7 separate regions of the Homo sapiens genome follow, and regions 1, 3, 4, 5, 6 and 7 are each linked to region 2. The links are contacts of gene promoters, found by promoter capture Hi-C in blood cells and fetal thymus (Javierre and others, 2016). All regions are on one chromosome and are shown on one strand. The core of a region is centred on a gene start or on the middle of the fragment in contact, and the rest is flanking DNA. Distances in the headings are between cores, read along the strand shown.

The links. Contacts are between HindIII fragments. The CHiCAGO score rates a contact against its expected background, and 5 or more counts as called.
Region 1: a fragment that was not itself captured here is called in contact with the fragment with the promoter of RBM41 in region 2 in 1 of 17 cell types (naive B cells); the score reaches 5.7 in naive B cells.
Region 3: a fragment that was not itself captured here is called in contact with the fragment with the promoter of RBM41 in region 2 in 2 of 17 cell types (total B cells and naive CD4 T cells); the score reaches 6.4 in total B cells.
Region 4: a contact is called between a fragment that was not itself captured here and the fragment with the promoter of RBM41 in region 2, in 2 of 17 cell types (naive CD8 T cells and activated CD4 T cells). The highest score is 7.2, in naive CD8 T cells.
Region 5: a contact is called between a fragment that was not itself captured here and the fragment with the promoter of RBM41 in region 2, in 1 of 17 cell types (naive CD4 T cells). The highest score is 6.6, in naive CD4 T cells.
Region 6: a fragment that was not itself captured here is called in contact with the fragment with the promoter of RBM41 in region 2 in 1 of 17 cell types (activated CD4 T cells); the score reaches 5.4 in activated CD4 T cells.
Region 7: a contact is called between a fragment that was not itself captured here and the fragment with the promoter of RBM41 in region 2, in 2 of 17 cell types (naive B cells and total B cells). The highest score is 5.3, in naive B cells.

What each region holds. Positions count from the first base shown.
Region 1 is chrX:107,862,140-107,864,839 of GRCh38, reverse strand. All of the region lies in intron 3 of MID2 (midline 2), which reads right to left. Among named protein-coding and RNA genes, the nearest start is that of MID2, 38 kb to the right of the region's middle. The HindIII fragment of the contact is 209 bases long and covers 1,188-1,396 here.
Region 2 is chrX:107,117,572-107,120,271 of GRCh38, reverse strand. It overlaps RBM41 (RNA binding motif protein 41), which reads left to right and starts at 1,450. Exons shown (of 8, transcript NM_001324242.2): 1 at 1,450-1,506. The coding sequence starts at 1,499. RefSeq lists enhancers at 1,497-1,686, 2,067-2,146. The HindIII fragment of the contact is 8,519 bases long and covers 1-2,412 here.
Region 3 is chrX:107,768,875-107,771,589 of GRCh38, reverse strand. The region is part of intron 1 of TSC22D3 (TSC22 domain family member 3); the gene reads left to right. Among named protein-coding and RNA genes, the nearest start is that of TSC22D3, 5.6 kb to the left of the region's middle. The HindIII fragment of the contact is 542 bases long and covers 1,014-1,555 here.
Region 4 is chrX:108,069,262-108,071,961 of GRCh38, reverse strand. The region is part of intron 3 of VSIG1 (V-set and immunoglobulin domain containing 1); the gene reads right to left. Among named protein-coding and RNA genes, the nearest start is that of PSMD10, 21 kb to the left of the region's middle. The HindIII fragment of the contact is 1,442 bases long and covers 714-2,155 here.
Region 5 is chrX:107,787,256-107,789,955 of GRCh38, reverse strand. The region is part of intron 1 of NCBP2L (nuclear cap binding protein subunit 2 like); the gene reads right to left. Among named protein-coding and RNA genes, the nearest start is that of NCBP2L, 11 kb to the right of the region's middle. The HindIII fragment of the contact is 887 bases long and covers 971-1,857 here.
Region 6 is chrX:107,719,085-107,721,784 of GRCh38, reverse strand. The region is part of intron 1 of TSC22D3 (TSC22 domain family member 3); the gene reads left to right. Among named protein-coding and RNA genes, the nearest start is that of TSC22D3, 55 kb to the left of the region's middle. RefSeq lists an enhancer at 46-205. The HindIII fragment of the contact is 8,360 bases long and covers 1-2,700 here.
Region 7 is chrX:107,751,828-107,754,650 of GRCh38, reverse strand. The region is part of intron 1 of TSC22D3 (TSC22 domain family member 3); the gene reads left to right. Among named protein-coding and RNA genes, the nearest start is that of TSC22D3, 23 kb to the left of the region's middle. The HindIII fragment of the contact is 1,302 bases long and covers 817-2,118 here.

The sequences.
Region 1 (2,700 bases), core at 43-2,542, 740 kb before region 2:
TGAGGTAGTAAATAGCTGATTTCCTGGCTGTATGTGTACTTCTAAGTAATCATTCCATCAAAAGACACCATTAATAATAGCAATGCATTCACTCTTTTTTGAGGAAATCTATATATTTGCAGTCATTGTGGTATTATATTTGTTATTTATATCCTGTTTTAAATGTGCAAACATTAATTATACTTTTGAGAGTACATCTTTACTGTCAAACTCTTAGTAACTGTTAAGAAACCCTGTGTCTCATGGAGACTACTTTTACCCTGAAACATGGTCATGTACAGCCCTAGAATGAGGACCCATCCCGGCAGTCTCAGCAAGAAAATATGGGTCCCAGCGTAAACTCTATGGCTGAGGACAGTGTTGATACCTGGAGCTGCCCACACTATTTCCACCCCTCATGGCACAAAAATAATCTGAGCAAGTAAATGCCTAATTGTGGGTATTATTGCTTCCTTCTGCCAACTCTAGGCAACTCCCTCTCCTCTGTACCCCATGAAGGGCTGTCAGAATATGGAGAGCTGCTCTGGGCTATTAAAGGTAGGCCAATGGCAGGAGTACATAAGAGGCTTACCACAGATTCAGGAACGCCAGGCCCCCAAACAGACCATATGTTTTTCTAGAGCTAGAGCTATTTAGTGGAGAAAAACAAAGGGTTTTCTGGAGCTGCCTCCTACCTATCTGAGCACAAATGAATCGGTGGCAAGTAAACCAACAACTTCTCCACTAGGCTGCACAATGCAATGGAAAGAACATAGACTTTGGAGTGAGAGAAATGTAGAACTGCATCCCAGCTTACTTATGTGTGACCTTGAGTAAGGCATCTAATATCTCTGGCCTTCAAGTTCCTCACTTGAAAAATGGGAATATTAACCAGCTGTATCACAGGATTGTCATAAACACTAAGTGAGATTAGAAATGATGTCTCTAGCACAGTGCCCAGAACAAATTATTCAAGTAAGATTCTCTTCCTCCCAATCCTTGCTTACCGTACCACAGAGCTGGACTCCTCTAGACAGGCAGAGACAGTAAGGACATCTCAATGGCTGTGTGCCTATCTGCTGTGGTGATAGTTGTTTTGGTTTCAAGTCTGGGTTTTTAAAACATTTGTTTAGTTTTAGTTGGGTTGATGGCAGGAGAGATTAGAGGTAAAAGTGGAACTAGAAACATTTCAAGGTATAGGATAAGCTTGATAGAGCCTTAGCTGAATTATTAAGATTCCATTAACTTTCCAAGAGCACACTGGAAATGGGGAATTTGGGTGGATTGTGAAAATAGTGGAGCAAACAAGAGGAGCCAAAATTAAGCAAGTCTTCTGGTCATTTAGTGAGTGACCTGGAATTTGAACACAGAAATGAGAACTAGAGGAGGGATGGGAAACGGGACTGTAAGATAAGCTTCACTGTGCCAAAGGAAAAGTGCAAAAGTGGGATGAAAGTGCATTCCTATGTGAACTGTTTCGGCTATGAAGACATGACCACACCTGAAAGCTTACCTGCCCTATAGATGTGAGGGAGGAGGGCGAGGAAAACAATATTAATCCTAACTAATTTTATCCTTAAACCCTGTCATGTGTTAATACCCTCCAAGTATTTCAACTGCAACATTTAATGTCTTCAAAAATGTTACTTTACTGACATAAATGAAGAATTGTCACAAAGTATTTTTTAAAAAGGATTGAATGCATTAGGTCTCTGAAAAATTATAAAGCACTTTCTTTTCTAGTATAAAAATAGGCTATGACCACACACTGGATTGCACAGTTAACTTAGGTTTTTCATCTATATTAAATGTCAATCGTTATATTCTTAATAAGATTGAATGTAATACTCTGAATTAGTCACTACAGTAGTATAAATGAATAGATTGACTGGATCACTGAACTTATTTTCCATTTTTCATGGAAACAATTTTCTCCATCTATAATTCCACAGTGGTTTCAAACTAGGTATTTCATTTTCACAAGACACTAGCAGTTCAAATCTTTCTCAGGAGCTCTTAAGTCTGCTCCCCTTGCTCTTCCATCTCTAACAAAAATATTCACAGAACATTTTTGCTAATAAACATTTTAAATCGCAAATACAAAATTATAGAACTCTCTCTTTTTAAAATTACTAGAGATGAAAGCATGTGACCCTCCCTAAAACTTTTCTTTTGGCTTTGCTTAAAGGCAGTAATCAAGAAGAATTTGGGCAGGATAATGGGCAAATTTACTTAAGTATCAACACGAAGAATCTTTTGGATATTCTTGCAGAAGGGCAGTAAATGTTTCCTTACTAAATAAAATTTGTTTAAATTAGTAACTGCAAACTAGCAGCTTATTGAGCACAATAACCCTTTTTAGTCTATCACATCTGCAGAGTTACTGGTGGGCTAGGTGGAGTCACATGGCCAAGGTACCCAATATTTTTGCTGCTGCAATTTCATTACCACTCCCTCTTCCCAAGAAAAGTTTTAGTTGATATATGTAAAATTTGAAATTGGTTATGAGTATTTGGGAATGATTGTTCTCCCCACTCTCAGAGATAGTGATAAAAAGCTTTGGAAGTCCTGAGGTCAGGGCTAGGAATCTCTGGCAAAATGTGTAGTGCCCAAAATTACTACTACTAGTACTACTGCTACTAGCAACTGTTCCTGCTATTACACCTCCTCTTCCTCTTTCTCCTTCTTTCCCTCCTCCTCCTCCTCCTGCTACTATGACTA
Region 2 (2,700 bases), core at 201-2,700:
GCATATACAAGCAAACACACATATATATGTTTTTAAGTGACTAGAGCTCCCCTTTTTATGCAAATAGAAGCATAGTATACATATCGTTCTGCACCTTGCTATTGCACTAACTATATTTTGGAGATTGTTTAGTAGCAGTTCATAGAGAACTTTGTCATCTTGGTAACTGCTGCATAGTTTTTCATTGAATGATACATTTTCATAGTATGTTCTTGGATATTTTCATTTCTGTTTTCATAAACAATGTTGCAAGGAATGATAGTAGGTTAGAGGATATATAGTATTGAGGATTCTATTCATAACTGAATTGCTGCTTTAAAGGGAATGTACATTTATGATTTTAGTAGTATCCTCATTTGCCCCCAATAGATGTTGTACCAATTTATATTCCTACCACTAGTGTATTGAGAGCGCCCGTTTCCCCACAATCTCAATAAAACAAGTGTGTTATCAAACTTTTGGATCTTTCCCAATCTGTTAGGTGAAAAATGGTAGTTTAATGTACTTTTAAAAATAAACTTTAAGTTCTAGAACAGTTTTAGATACAGAAAGGTTGCATAGTACAAAGTTCCACATACGTACAACTCAGTTTCCCTTGCATAACTCTGATACATTTGTCACAGCTAACGAACCTTGTTATTAGCTAAAGAGCATAGTTTGTTCACATTTCCTTAGTTTTTACCTCATGTCTTTTTTTCTTTTCCAGGATCCCATCCAAGATACTGCATTACTTTAGTCATCATGACTCCTTTGGTTCCTTTTGGCTGTGACAGATTCTTGTGTTTTTGATGACCTTGCTAGTTTTAAGGAGTACTGGTAGTCAGTGTACTTTAAAATTTGTGAGATTGGACATCTTTTCATACACTTAAAGACATTTGCATTTCCATTTCTGGAAACTAAGAGCCTATGCTTTTAACCACTATACTATACCTCTTTCTTGATTCACCATAATTATCAATAAAACATATGTGGGCCTGAACATACACAGACTTCTGATTCTGAGTGGAGAAAACTCTCAAGTCTCTGTTACAGATAGAGGAGAACCATTAGTACAGGTGATATAGTCAGACTCGTGTCTGATGACTCTGGCTACATCGTGAAGGATGAAGCAGAGGCTCGACTGGAAACGGTAGGTAGGCTGGATAAATCCTTGAAAGAAAAGCAGTGTTGATAAGTTCAAAGGAAATTACAGAAGAGCCAGGAATTAGTGGTAATGGATGAGAGAATCAAGAAGTCAAAGGTGACTCGTTTTATGAGCTGGATATTTTGGGTCTTCTTTTGAACCTAAATGAGAAATTCAAAATAAATATTTGGACAATGTTCAGCATACCTGTCACTTGAGATCTACTTTCTCTTTCTGTTGCCATAGCTCTGTGCTACTACAATTCCCAGAGCCCCATGCTCCATCACAATACCCTTAGAAGTCCGCCGCGCGGAGTTCTGGGACTTGAGGTCCGCGGCCTATTTACCCAAGTTGGAGGTAGGGGCCTGTGGAAACATGAAGAGGTAAGGACTTGTCTGAAGAGCAGGCGGCAAGGGGAGCTTTGTTCTACCTTTTCTTTTGAAAATGGCTTCCATTGCTTTCTGGTTTGGGTATTGCACGTTCTCAGGATGCGGTTTCGTGGGAGCGGGAACACGACAAAGGAGACGGGAGGAGGGGAGACGGGCTGAACAGGCCTGCAGAGCGAAGTTCAGGAAGGGCTGCCACCGGGGCCGGCTGCTGTGGGAATGCCCTCCCGGCACGGGCCCCGGGAGCTGGCCGGGTGCTGCGGCTTCGTCGTTTCACCCGGACCCAGCTGGGCAAAAGGGTTTGAGGCTGACAAATTCCCGGCGCCGGAGATGTAGGTACCTCGGGCCAGCCCCTCGCCGTTCTCCCCTACCTCCACCTCCACCTGAGAAAGGCTCGGGGCGGGCGCATTTATTTGCAACGTCTGTGTGTTAAAGACTACTTGCTTGGGCCCCGAAACCATGTAGCGCTTTCGAATCTTAAAGTAAGGGAGCGGTACTTTGTTTCTAAATGTGGAAGGACAGCACCAAAGCGGTTCGATTTATGGGGTGGGGGGAGGGGAGGTGGAAGGCATTGCTGGGCTCAGTTCCCCTTACTTGTCCTGAGGTAAATGGCCGCTTGAGCCTAAATGGCCTGAGCCTCCTAACTATTGACGGGCTTAAATTAATTTTAGATTCACTCTGCAAGTAGAATCATCACTCTGGAATAGTGCAGTGCATTTAAAATTCTTACTGATATGCTTTCCTGCACTGTCAGTTCCTTGCATCTTTTAAAAAACCGTTTATGACTTTGCCTGCCTGAAACTAACCTTTAATATTTTTTTATGATATCTCCTCCATGCGAAATAATGTATAATGTATATATACAGCTTAAAGAATAATAAAGGTTCGCATCCACTACAAGCTTAAGAAATAGGACATTGCCAGTCCCTTAGAAGTCTACTGTGTCTCTTCCCTCCCTTCGTTCCCCCCTGAGGTGACCACTATCCGGAATTTTGTGTTATTAATTCCCTTGCTTTTAAAAAAGCAAATAGTTTCTAGTACATATGAATTTATCCCTAAACAAAATGTTCCTAGTCATGTATTTGAAGTATTCCTGATACTTCATGCTGGCGTTTCTATTGTAAAAGCTACTAGACTCAATGTGGCTAAAACAATACTGACTTTCCCTTTCCCAAATCATTTATTCCATCT
Region 3 (2,715 bases), core at 35-2,534, 650 kb before region 2:
ATTTTGAGACGGAGTCTTGTTCTGTCGCCCAGGCTGGAGTGCAGTGGCACGATCTCAGCTCACTGCAGTCTCCACCTCCTGGGTTCAAGCAATTCCCCTGTCTCAGCCTCCTCAGTAGCTGGGACTACAGGCGCACGCCACCACACTCGGCTAATTTTTGTATTTTTCGTAGAGATGGGGTTTCACCATATTAGTCAGGCTGGTCTCGATCTCCTGATCTCAAATGATCCACCAGCCTCGGCCTCCCAAGGTGCTGGGATTACAGGCATGAGCCACTGCGCCCGACCAAATGGGTACTATTATCATCCATTTTCATTTTATAAAGAAGGAAATTGAGGCTTGGAAAAAATTAAGTATCTTGCCCAATGCCTCACAATGAAGAGCAGAGCCTGAATTGTCTATGAAGAAAGAATTGTTAAGAACACTCAGTAACTAAACTAATGCTAAAGAAATTCTTGTAACACTTAAGAATTGTCTATGAAGCAGAGGTAAATGTGAGCTCAGAACCTTTCCAAATGGTCAAAATGTCCTTATTAGGTAGGGAAACCAACCATCCCAGTCCTGTGACATAGGACTGCCTGTGCTCAAACTGGAACAGTCCTAGGGAAACTGGGATGGTTGGTCACCCTGTTGTTAGGGGACTTCCCCCTTGTCATTTGAATATGCTTCTAATACTGGAAAACTTAGGAGGGAGATAGAATATTCTGGGCAAACAGCAGAAGTTTCCAATTTAAATGTAGCATATGAAAAAGCTTCCCAAGTTGACATTTGAAGAGCCTTCCTTAATTTTTCTGACCTGTAAGGTATAACAACCTGTAACAGGAGCTTTGACAGTATTCGTTGTGATTGCTGTTGCTGTAACCTCAAATTTTTTTCTAAGATTTTACCCAAAACCTCTTAATCAGCTCTATTCTACCTTTGACCCCAGAGCGTACCTGGCTAGTGTGGTCTGAAATACTCTGAATCCGATTTCCCTTCCAGCTCTAAAAACCCTAGGATTCTACCTTTAAGCTTCTGACCTGGCCCCAACTGGTTCCCATATATAAATGCTCAGAAAATGATAAAAATAGCAAACATTTCTAATTGCTTTATGTGTGCTAATTCATTTAATATCCCCTATTAATATAGTAACAAAGGGGAAGGATATAGATTCAGAGATCAGGTTTTCAAGAAAAATTTGTGCAAAAAATTATTTGTGCTTCTCTAAGTGAGTCTCAGAACAAGTAATTTCATAATGTATATTCCTGGACCTGGCTTCTGAGGTGGTGGCCACTCACACGGCATGATTTGAGTGGCTGCCTGCTGCAGTGCCTAAGTTCATACTATTTAAGATTCAGTTCTCTGTCCATGTACCATCTAAAATTCCTCTCCCAGAGCACCGCTGGTATGTAGACCACACTGTGAGAAACCCTGTATTAGAGATTGCAACGCATTGTCAACTAATTTACCATTTGATTTTGAGGATGGAGTTACTCGCTGTAGAGCGGTTTTGGGTTTCTGTGTGGTTAAGCCTGTCATTCTTTGCCTTTGTGATTTTTGCTTTTGGTATCAAGCTTCAAAAGTCCTTTCATAGCCCAAAGTAATTTAAAATAACTATTTCCTGAGTGCCTAGTGGTCTGACAAAGAATAGGCATTCTTGGATTAAGGGACCTTCTCCATTAAAAGCACAAATGCATTTGCAAACTTAACATTCATGGTTTGGATACTTCATGAGAACTCAGACTGGTAAGAAACTGTGTTTTTGCTGAGGCACAGATGTGAATCACATGTGCAAGGAGACTAGTAGGTGGGGGCCGGTCCTTTCACCAATGAGTGAGCCTGGTGCCCTACCCCACATCTACTAGTGTGTGTGTGTGTGTGTGTGTGTGTGTGTGAAAGAGAAAGAGAGAGATGTATTATATGCATATATTGTACATAGTACATATATATATATAGTGGTAAAATAGATATAAAATTTGCCATTTTAACCATTTCTAAGTGTACGATTCAGTAGCATTAGGTATATTAACAATGTTGTGCAACCATTATCATTCCCAAAATTTTGTCATCATCCCAAACAAAAACTCTGTACCCATTAAAGAATAACTCACCGTTTCCCTATTTTCCCCTCCCACTACCCCCTGGTAACCTCTATTCTACTTTCTGTCTCTATGGATTTGCCTATTTAGATATTTCATATAAATTGAATCATACAATATTTTGTGTCTGATTTCTTTCACTCAACATGTTTTAAAGTTCATCCATGTTGTAGCACATATCAGTACTTCATTCTTTTTATGGCTGAATAAAATTCCATTGTATGGATATACCTCTTTTGCTTATCCATTCATCTGTCAGTGGACACTTAGGTTGTTGCCCTCTTTTGGCTATTATGAAGAATGCTGCTATGAACACTGGTGTACAAGTATCTGTTCAAGTCCCTGCTTTTAATTCTTTGGGGTATATACCTAGGAGTGGCATTGCCCAGCACCTACTTTTCAACACAATTTTGTGGTCTACTGCTCGTAGTCAACACATACGTAGGAACCTGTCATAAAATGAGCAAATGTCTCAGGGCATTCCTTGAGGAGAATGCTCCCTCTCTAAGCCAGCTGCTGGTGCTAGTGATTACAACGAAGAGAAAGCTACAAAGTTTGGCAAAGTGATGGTGCTGCCTGGGAATGGACTTTTTATGGGGGAAATGACATGCTTTGGAGATTGCATCCATGAGTTGGA
Region 4 (2,700 bases), core at 185-2,684, 950 kb before region 2:
CTTTTTAAAATATTTAATGCTGTATTTCTCTTTTCTCTCATGATTATTTTCTTTTTTTTTTTTTTTTTTGCATTTGTTCATCTGTGGGTGACACAAATAGTTGAAAGGTTTAAATTTGCCTGTGTGCATCATCAGTAGGGGAAGTCCATTTGGGGGGTGCACGCTACTCAGCACTGAAATATTTATTCATCCTTCACTCAGCAAGCACCCATGCCTTCTGTGGGCCTGGCATGGGACTAGGCACCAGGAATTCAAAAGTAACTTTCACACAGTTCTAAAGTGGGGTGGGAGAGGGATGAGAGATGACTTTAGAGAGGGGAAGAGGCCTCCAAGACCACAGCAGGAAGAACAGGTTTTAGGTGAAGGGGTGACAAGGAGGAAGGGGTACTAATGAGGTCAGTCCGGGACATAGAGTTTTAGCTGCTTATGAAAACATGTCAGGGGAGAAGTCCTGTGGGAAGCTGGGAATCTGAATCTCCTCATTCATCTTACTTACTTGCACGGTTTATTCTATCTTACATATCTTATACATTTATATATCTATCATATCTACATATCTATCTTATATCTCTTATCTTAGATATTTATTTTATATCTATACATCTATCTTATACACCTTATATATCTATCTTATATACAGACAATGATGTAAATTTCTATACTTTCCAACTCACCTTGCTTATCTTCATTTTGCTCTAGAACCCTTTAAAGCTTAGGTTCTCTAATTTAGGTGAGTTAGACATGAAATGTGTCATATTACTCAGTCCTACAGCTCTTACCTGAGACGCAGTGGTTAAGGGCACAGCTCTGGATCCACACAGAATACGGGCTTTGTAACTCTACCCTGGATCTGTATAGGCAAGTTACCTAACTTAGCCAAACCTCAGCTGACTCATCTGTAAAACGTGACTAAGAGATTATCTAACCTCTGGCTGATCCAAGTATTAAATACAATAATAAATATAGGGCCTAGAACCTGGAATTTCTGTTGGCCACAGCAGCACTAATTCCTGCTACTAAAGTTACTCTCCCATTGACTTCCGCTCAGTTCAGCCTTCCCAGACTCTCACTATCTGTACACAGGTGCGAGAAGACAGATGCATATAGCTATAATTCTTAAACAGTTTACTAGCCCTATCTTTTAAGCATGTGTCTTTTTAATTGAAAGGAATATCCTTCTACTTAGTTCTTTATTCTTTCTTATCAAAGATTTTCTCAGGTAGGAACAACTTGTTGGATGTGCCTATCCTAAACTAAGCTATTTAACCAGAAGTCCATTGCAGCTATCACTAGATTTAGATACTGCCTTTTTAAAAAGATGGCTATTGTATAGCCTTTACAGCAGAATAGAACAATTTGAACAGAAAATTAAATGGGGGTGTTTCATCACAAAGTTGGACACCAGGACTTGAACTAAATTATGGCAAAAACCTGGAATGACTTGCACTCATTTCTTGAGCCCAGAATCAAACCCAGATAGGCATTTTTTTTGCTTAGAATATTTTTCTCCTTTTATTTTTTATTAACAAAACATTTAGTGAATCACTTTGAACCAAGTCCCAAACCTATATATTTTCTAAAACTACTGACCCAGGATTGAACTGAAATTTCATCCAGTTAAAGTCCCCAGTGGAACTTGGGTATTTTACTGGCAAAGCCATTGATCTACCATTTAGCTTTATTGCTTTCAACAGAATTGGGGTGGGAGGAAAAGGCTCAGCTCAGAAAAAAAAAGAAAAAAGAAAAAACAAAGTGCTTCAGTAGGTTCTTAAACCTTCCCTAAATCAATCATTTTCTTTTTATGTGCCAAATTGCGGAAGGTAGATGATGCTCATTCCAAATGCACACAAAATAATTATTCAAACTTGATCTGGGTATTTTTCAGAGATTAATTTTCCAAGGTTGTCATACCTAATGGAAAGCTCTCAAATGAATGGCCATCCAAACCACCTGGTTCTTTGCCCATTGCTGTTTCCTTCACCTAAACTGTGCCTTGCCATCTCAGCCCCTCTTCTTCATCACACACTCTTGCACATCCTTCAACATTCAGCACAAAAGTCACTTTCCTCAATAAGCCTTCTCCAATTCCTGATACAGCTTTTTGCCCTTTCCCCTGTGCCCTCATAGCTCTCCTCTCATACCTCCACTGAAAGCTTTTATGTTACGCGTCTGTCTCCTTCACTAGACTGAATTTTAGAGGGCTAAGACCCTATCTTTTACATTTCCCCATGTCCATTGCTTAGCACAGTAACTGGCACGTGTGCTCAGGGTTTGTTAAATGAATTCATGCATGAACGAGTAAATGCATGGGATTGATGCTCACTGCTGGGTAACAAAACATCTGAAAGATACATTGCTATGAGAGTCATCTTTAAGGAAATATCAACACCTCTCCCCACAATTAACCTGTCTCTCTTACCCACCTGTCCCCATCTTGCCTCACCTTTCAGTCAGGGCAAGCAAAATTGTCACTCATATACAATGAGATTTGAGAATTGCAAATAGTCGCTGCAATTTTTAGAGAAAATTAGCAGTCTCAAATTTTCCAAAAAGCCTACATTTGGAGGAGGCCTTTGTTCTTTGCCCAATTAACAAAAACAATATTTTTTAGAGTTCCTAAACAAACAAGGAAATCCACAGACCCTTCTGCCTCTTACCTTGTCTGGATCCTGGCTGCTTAAGGAAAAGTCATGACACAGA
Region 5 (2,700 bases), core at 165-2,664, 670 kb before region 2:
GGAGCTCTCAAGAGAGGTCTGTGTCTGGGACCACAGACACAGATTTGGGGCTCAATAGGATGGTAGATAAAACCATGGGTATGGATGAGATGATCTAGGGGAAAGGTGAGGAATGAAAAAACCTGGGAAAGACTGGCATTTAAGGGGTGGCAGACGAAAAGTCCACAAAACAGCATAAGAAGGAGTAATCAGAGAGGAATGAGGACAGTCAGAAGATGTGCAACATCACCAAAGCCAAGGAGTAGGTCATGAGAGTCATGAGGACAGAAGTAGGGTGAGAGCAATCAATTATGTTAAATACATCAGAGAGAGGTCCAGTAAAATAAAGACTTAACATTGTTCATTAGATTTGGCAATTAGGATGTCATTGGTTTACTTAAAAGAGAAATAACAGTGGTGTTCTGGGAACAGAAAAGCCATAGTGGGAGCTGAGTTTTTAACAGGAGGTGAGGAAATGGAGAGTGTCTACACTTTAGAAAAGATTCCATAACAATAAAAGAAGAGAAATAGGGCAAATGCCAGTTGGGGATAGAGGCGAAGGAAAATTTGTTTGTTTCTTTTTTTAGAGTGAAAGTTGATCATGCCTGAAGGTTGATGGGAAGCAGCCAGTAAGTAGAGAAGGAGTTGTTGAAGACACAGATGAGAGGAGGGATAACTGATGAAGTAAGTCCTCATGGAGGTGAGAAAGAATGGGCTCCAAAGCATACGTAGAGAAATTAGCCTTGAACTGGAGAAGCTATGTGTATTTCTGCAAGCCCAAAAAAAAAAAAAAAAAAAAAAAGAGGTTAGGACATGTAGGGACACAACTATGTGGCAGGGTGGGGTTAGGACAGGAAAATGAGTGTTAGCATCCAACGACCTAGATTTTCATAATGGAATAAGAGGTGAGATCATCTGCTGAGAATAAAGTGGATCATTGAAAATAGTTGGTGAAGCAGAGTGGAGGTAAAATGATTGAAAGGATGAAGCTTATAAATGGGTCATCTATGAGGACATTAAGATCACTCAGGATGGTGGCTAGAGTTGGGGTGGAAAGGAAGACTATCAGTGAGGAGGTGAAGTCCTCAATAGGTGAGAGAACTAAAGTACAGCAGATGATAGTAGGAAGGATTGGAAGAGGGTGGCTGTACCATCTCCAGGCCCCATGGGGTAAGAAAGAACAGAGAACCTCTACCACTGAAAACAGAGGTTTCTAGTTGATGTTAGGTACCTGACCCAAAGTAGGTACTCACTAGATGTGAAGAAGTGAGTTACTCTTTTTTAAGCTGGTATGATCATGAAATTGCATCAGACCATCACAAGGAGTGGCAGTCCCAATGTGCTCCATGCTGGTCAAACTACACAGCGAGCACTACGTTCCATTTCGAGGTACTGTATTTTAAAGTGAACATTTACAAATCATAGTGCATCTGATGTTTATTGAATGAATGAAGGGTCAAGAAGTAACTGAGGACTGATTAGAAATTGGGGATGTTTAGTCTAGCAAAGAGATGGTTAAAGGAGGATATGACAAATGTCTTGAAATATTGAAAGTGCTATTTCTGCTCCATATGATAAAAGTAAGATTAATGGATAGAAGTTAAAAACAGAAGATTACAATTCTTTTTTAGCAGAGTTTTTAATTCATCCAGTGATAGAATGTGAACTTACCTAATCTATTCATGTGGAGGCTGCAATGAACACCTACCTGCTAAAGGTGTTAGAAGGGTCACCCCCAAGGTTAACATCCCCAAAGGTTAAAGAGAAGATAGAAAAGCAATCCAGTTGCCAGGGACCACAGATCACCAAGTTGATCTGTAAACACTGTGAGAGAATATTTCCTACCTAAAAAGTAGAGCTTGGTTGGAGTGGAAAGCTTTCCTTGACTCTTGCTACTGGAGAAAATTAGTCAGAGAGTCTAAAAATAGAAGAAAAACATGAAGAATGGCTCAAAATGATCAGTCAAAATCCTAAGAGGACGGAGGAGAGGAGGTGGCAAAATAAAGTAAATTATCTTCCAGGAAACAAACTTCACTGGGCTTTTGGAGTTGGCAGGACTCTGCAAAGAATCTTTTCAATGGTTGCCTTAAACTAATGCTGGGATTGTTTCAACTATGTGAAAGGAACAAGGATCTGGACTCTTTAAAAAGCCAGGCTACTTTCTGCTCCAGATGAAGGCAGTAGCTCTAAGAAAGGAAATTAGAAAGCGCTGGGACAGTAGTGTTACTACATGCCTTACCTTTATAAGACTGTTCCTAATGGGTGAGAGAGCTGAGAGCCATTGTTGAGGACTGGAACCCTGTGGCCAAATATCTACTTTGTGCCAAGAGAAATTCATGTCTGATTGAGACTGCCTAGTGCTCAGAGTGACAGAAGATGTTCATATGTATTTAACACCTGTATTTAAATGAGTAGTTAAACATAAACATGTCATGGAGGTGAGAGATGAGAAATTACTTAATGGGTACAATCTACACTGTTTGGGTGACGGTTACATTAAAAGCCCAGACTTCACCACTCTGCAATATATCCATGTACCAAAACTGCACTCGAACCCCTTAAATTTGTACAAATAAATAAATAAACAAACATAAGCTGAAACAGACTGGCAGAACTAAAGCGGAGACAATGGCCTGAGACAGGCTACAGGAGAAAAGAGGATAATAAGTGACTGTTTAGTGTAGAAGCTGATCTGGATTAAATTAGGAAGCAGGTGTTAAT
Region 6 (2,700 bases), core at 1-2,500, 600 kb before region 2:
TTCAACCATCCCATTAACACTGTGTTAACGCTCTAGTGCTCAATATCCTTTTTGTATTTCCTTTTCCAGCTCCTAACCCAGTGTTTGCTTTGTGGCTTCTCCCGCACCTCTCGCATCATGTCTTTTTCCGCTTCTCCTGACACAGGACCCTGTGTTTTGCTGGCAACATTGCCGAACCTTTGGGTGGAACATTCCCTGTAGAAAATAAGGAAGACTTACCTATAAATAGTTTCCTTCTGGCTGTGTGGTACACAGTGCTTCAAGTGTAACAAAAAGGGAAGTGAGATGTTCCCCCTCATCACCACCCCCAACCTACCGCACCCGCCCTGAATCTGCTGTCCAACGCCATCAGGGCTCTGAGATCCTGCCCGGGGTTATGCTGCCCAGACTTTGCCCAGTCTCTGTTCTACTGTCCCATGGGAACCTGACGTAGGAAGGGCTCTTGTCCTAGAGAGTCCAGTCTGGCTTTTGAAGGGGAAAAGATGAATGGGAAATGCTGAGGCACTTCTTTCAGCTCAAAGGGAATATGCTGGTTTCCAAAGCCTCCTGAAATGAAGGGAATTGGCCCTGTCCTCATTACGCCACCCTCCATCTAGAAGGTCGCCCCTGAGAAAGGTAGGGTCAGCCATGTCTGTTTTGTTACTATGTCCCTTTAAGACTACAGCTGAGAGCCAGCAAAGGGCCTGGCTCCTCAGTGAGGTGCTGTTGCCGTGTTGGCTCTGGGTCCAGCCTACATTGTGAGTTGTGGGATGTCAGAAAGAGAATTTGGCAACATTTATGAATGTTGGGGTAGCTGGGCCATTGAATGCCTAGGCCACTGTTTCCTGTTTGGGGCCCACTTCCACGGGACACAAGGACCCTGAGAGTCTCAATATTGGATCAGATCATGGATAGGTACAGCACAAACTTCCACTCACTGCAAGGTTTGGCATAGCTATTCTGGGTGGAGAAATTTTCTGGTGTGCTGAGGGTTAAGCAGAAAACTCTTTGGGTTCCTCCTCCTTCCCCCACCCCCACCCTTCCTACCCACCCTTATCTCCCCTGCCCTTGTTGTTGGAAAATCTTTTTTCTTTTCTTTTCTTTTTTTTCTTTAGACAGAGTTTCGCTCTTGTTGCCCAAGCTGGAGTGCAATGCCACGATCTCGGCTCACTGCAACCTCCGCCTCGCGGGTTCAAGTGATTCTTCTGCCTCAGCCTCCCGAGTAGCTGGGATTACAGGCATGCGCCACCATGCCCGGCTAATTTTTTGTATTTTTAATAGAAACTGGGTTTCACCATGTTGGCCAGGCTGGTCTCGAACTCCTGACCTCAGGTGATCTGCCCACCGCAGCCTCCTGAAGTGCTGAGATTACAGGCGTGAGCCGCTGCGCCTGGCCAGAAAATCTTTCTACAGAGACATTTAAGTCCATATTCTTCCCTTAGGGAGCCAGTGGACCCTGGGATCCATTCATTCTTTCCTAATGGAGGATCATAAGGTCTCAGGGTGATCACATCTCACTCAGCAGAACCAGAGATGTAGAGAGGATGAGAGCTTGTCTGAGTCTGGGCTGAACCTGGGACCTCCTTTCCAAGTCTTTTTTTTTTTTTTTAACTAAATCTTTGATACGAACTTGTTTTCTTATTGACCTCATTTTCCTAAAAGCTGGAATAGGGGGAAAAAGGAGTTAATTAAGAGTTGCCGGTGAGTGGGGCTCCAGGAACTCAAAGTTTGACTGCATTGTGATTGTGCTGCCAAGACTCCATACTTGATTTGGAATATTGTACACTCTCCTACACGTTCCATTCTGGAAGCCACCCTGTTAGATTAATGTCTCCTATTTCCCAAACAGATAGCTTTCTTTGAGGATTGCTTGGCTGCCTTTTGGAATGATGTGGTTGAGCATGGCCGTCTCATAAAGCTCATTTGGACAGTTGGATATTGTTCCAGTCACCCATTGCAGCTCTCCTCTGCCTCACGTGTCAGAAAAGCCAAGGCTCGCAGAACTCAAAGGCAGTCTCTGGACCTCTCTAATAGTAGGGCTGCTGCTTCTCACCCTTTCTTCTTCCTTACCACTCTCTGGCACCTCCAAACCCCCTACCAACTTCCTCAACTCACTCATTCAAGCCTCTAACCATTCAACAAACCTATTCCCTGCCCCACTGATCAGTGCAGTAGGAACAGATTTGATCTCTGGGTCAGGAAGACCCTGGGCTGCAGTTCTAGCTCTGTAATTTATTACCTTTGCCGCCTTGGGCAAGGTAGCCTCTCAGACCCTTGGTTTCTTCATCTGTAAAATGATAGTGACAGTGCCTAAACCTTGGGGTTGGTGGTGCAGCCAGCACAGTGTCTGCCCATAGCTGATGCTCTATTAATAGTAACTATTATTGTCAGTGAGTCTCAGACTCAATTTGCTTTTATAATTGAAGTATAACTAATGAACAACTCAGACGAGATCAGGTGTGTTCAGGGTGGTATGGCCGTAGACAAATTAATGATCAATTCAAATGCAGCTTTGCTGGGAACCTTAACCCTTTTGCCTTCCCTTCCCATACCACCTGGATTTCTCTGCCTCTGTCTCCACATAAGGGAGTCCCTCTTGAAGGAGCTGTTTTTACTTCTGTCCTGTGCCCTGTTTTCCTGGTGGTGTTTTTCCCCTGCCAGCCCAGCTTATTTCTCTGTCCCCTTTTCTTCTCATCATCTTCCTTGGAATCTTCGGGGGAG
Region 7 (2,823 bases), core at 218-2,717, 630 kb before region 2:
AGCATCCAGGGTCATGCTTGTTCCTTAATGATACTAAATTGTGTGCTAGCAACTCATTGCAGCCTCTGCTCTTAGCTGCCTACCCACATAGCCCCATTCTTGTATCTGGGTAGAGTTTTGATTATTCCTATATTCATTATCCATTTTGTGGATTATCTATAGCAATCACAAAATTCCAGGCTGCCCCCCACCGACCTTCTAGCTAGTTTCTGGGAACTCTGGGGTGCAGGATCACTTTGATACCAGCCCAAGTAGTGCATAAAGAAAGTTTTTTCAAAAATAAATTACCCACTCACAAATGGATTCCAAATCCAAGTATGGCTGAGTTTCACATGGCTAGGGTAACATAGGACATGTGGCATGGATAATCCAAAATAAGAGATAATGTAGGAGAAACATCATGTCTAGCTAGCTTTGAAATTGCACCATGATAGGCCAGGCGCGGTGGCTCACGCTTGTAATCCCAGCATTTGAGAGGCCGAGGTGGGAAGATCATGAGGTCAAGAGTTCGAGACCAGCATGGCCAACATAGTGAAATCCCCGTCTCTACTAAAAATACAAAAAAAAATTAGCTAGGCGTGGTGGCACGCTTCTGTAATCCCAGCTACTCGGGAGGCTGAGACAGGAGAATCACTTGAACCTGGGAGGCGGAGGTTGCAGTGAGCCAAGATCTCACTACTGCACTCCAGCCTGGGCAACAGAGTAAGACTCCGTCTTAAAAAAAAAAAAAAAAGGAAGAAAGAAATTGCACCATGGGTCTAACTTTTTTCAGTAGATCTGCCTTCTTAATTATTTGGGCTGATATGAAAATAAGCTTGCACCCCTGGAGTATACAGAAACTAGAAGAAACTGGATGTAGGGAGAAGCTAAGCTGAGACCAAGCATTGCCACTGCTATTTCACAAAATGGAAAAGCCACCTAGAAATACTTGGGAGTTGATTTTCAAGCATACTGAAGTCATTTCTGTGTGTCTTTGAAATATGTCATATGGTTGTGGATGCTGTGGATTTGTCCATGAAGACCTAAGGGGTCTGCGTAATGGTACCTAGTTTGACTTGGGGAGACAGATCCAAGGAGTTACCAGGAAATCGATAGTTCCCTTCTTCTTCCTAACTATAACCTGATGGCTGTATCACAATGCCTGGTCTGATCGTCTGACCCATGTGAGTCTGAAAGTGGTGGCGCAATTCATCTGAGGAAAATCACATCTGAAACAGGAAGGGGCACGGCAGCCTCTTCAGCCAAGGATTTATGTATCTGTCACAGGAGGGAAGTGTGAGCTGAGAAATGACTCCCAGAAGTGCTAGAATTGGAAGAGGCAGCACTGCTACCTATCATAGTCAGCAGTGTATTCATGGGGAATCTATGCTACCTCAGGAGGCCAGCATCCTGGCCCTTCCTCCCTTCCCTGAGTCCATCCTCCCTCCTCTCTCCTCTCTGGCTCAGCAAGCACTTAAGAAAACAGAGCTGAGCTAGCCAGGTGCACCCTGTCAGTGGCCAAGCAGTAGGTAAAGGGAAGGATAGGAGAGGCTTGTACTGCTCCTGGCCTGGCATTTAGAGGCCCAGGGGACAAGTCCCAGGCCCTTGAGCCAGCCACAGTAGGCTTGCAGCTGATGCCATGTCACCATGGCTGAAGCTAGTGGCAACCTGAGTGGATGGGGCTTCTCTGGTTCCTGCAGCCCACAGAGACCAACAAATTCACTCAGTTGGGTTCTGTCTAGACTTAATTCTTGCTGTCTTTGTGAATTGATTTTTACATTCTGGCCTGCTGTGCGTATCTTGGCTATGGGATCTCTTGCTGAGCCTGGGACAGAGTCTTTTCTTCCTGCCCCTTCTCCTCTGCAAGGCTGCCGGACCAGCTCCCTTGGCAACCTCATTAGGCTCCAGTGGTGTCCGTGGGGAATCTAAACTGGGCAGCAGTGATCCATCTTTAGGGCTCTCATCCATCCAGGTGGCTCCTAACCTCTCCAACGCAAAGGGACTCCAGCTGAAAAATCAAAACCAGCCTTCTTTGGGAGCCCCACTCATTGTTTGAGACAGGCTACGAGAAAGTCCACACCTCCAGGCATAGCTCTTTGTGCTTCCCTTCCTTGTTCTTTGTCTCCAGGGCAGGAAGCTTGGCCAAGGAGGCAGATCACCCCCCAACTCACCACCCATAACAAAGAACTAATGACTGTTTTCACCATTCCCCTCCTCTGGAAGCAAGGGATGGGTCATGCCAGGCCTTGAAGTTGAGTAGGGAAAGTGAATCCCACCCAGGCTCCAGACCTGGTTCCTCCTCACCAGCACAAAGTCCCTGTATTACGAGGGAAGAGGTTAGTATGAATTCTGGATAAATGCCTCAGTCTGGAGAGGAGATTGTGTCTCCCTTGTTGTAAACCTAGCTGCCAAATCAGAACCACTTTCAGCTTGGATAGAGGAATCAAGCTCATCCCTCAGAAAACAGATGGTGAACAGTGTAGGCTTTGTTTTTCATACTCCCTTTTCTCACTCCTTCTCCCTTCTAGCACAAGCTCTTCATGCTACCCCCCGCCGCTGCTTAGGACTCTCAACTATAGGATGATAGCTCATGTTCCAAAACTTTCCTGATCTCCTGCCTCTTAACCATGGCCTTGAGGCCTTACTTTCTGCTAATGCGAATGTGATATGATGAATCCAGCTGAGGTGTAAACAGCTTGTAGTAACTGAATGTGCTCCCCTTCCCAAGTTGCAATTTTATTTAAACCTGGGCCTTCAAAAGGAGTAAGCAAAGTGAGGATTTCAGGCTCAGCCTAGGGCAAGTAGAGTTGAGTTTTGGGGCATGGTGCCTTTGACCTTTATCCC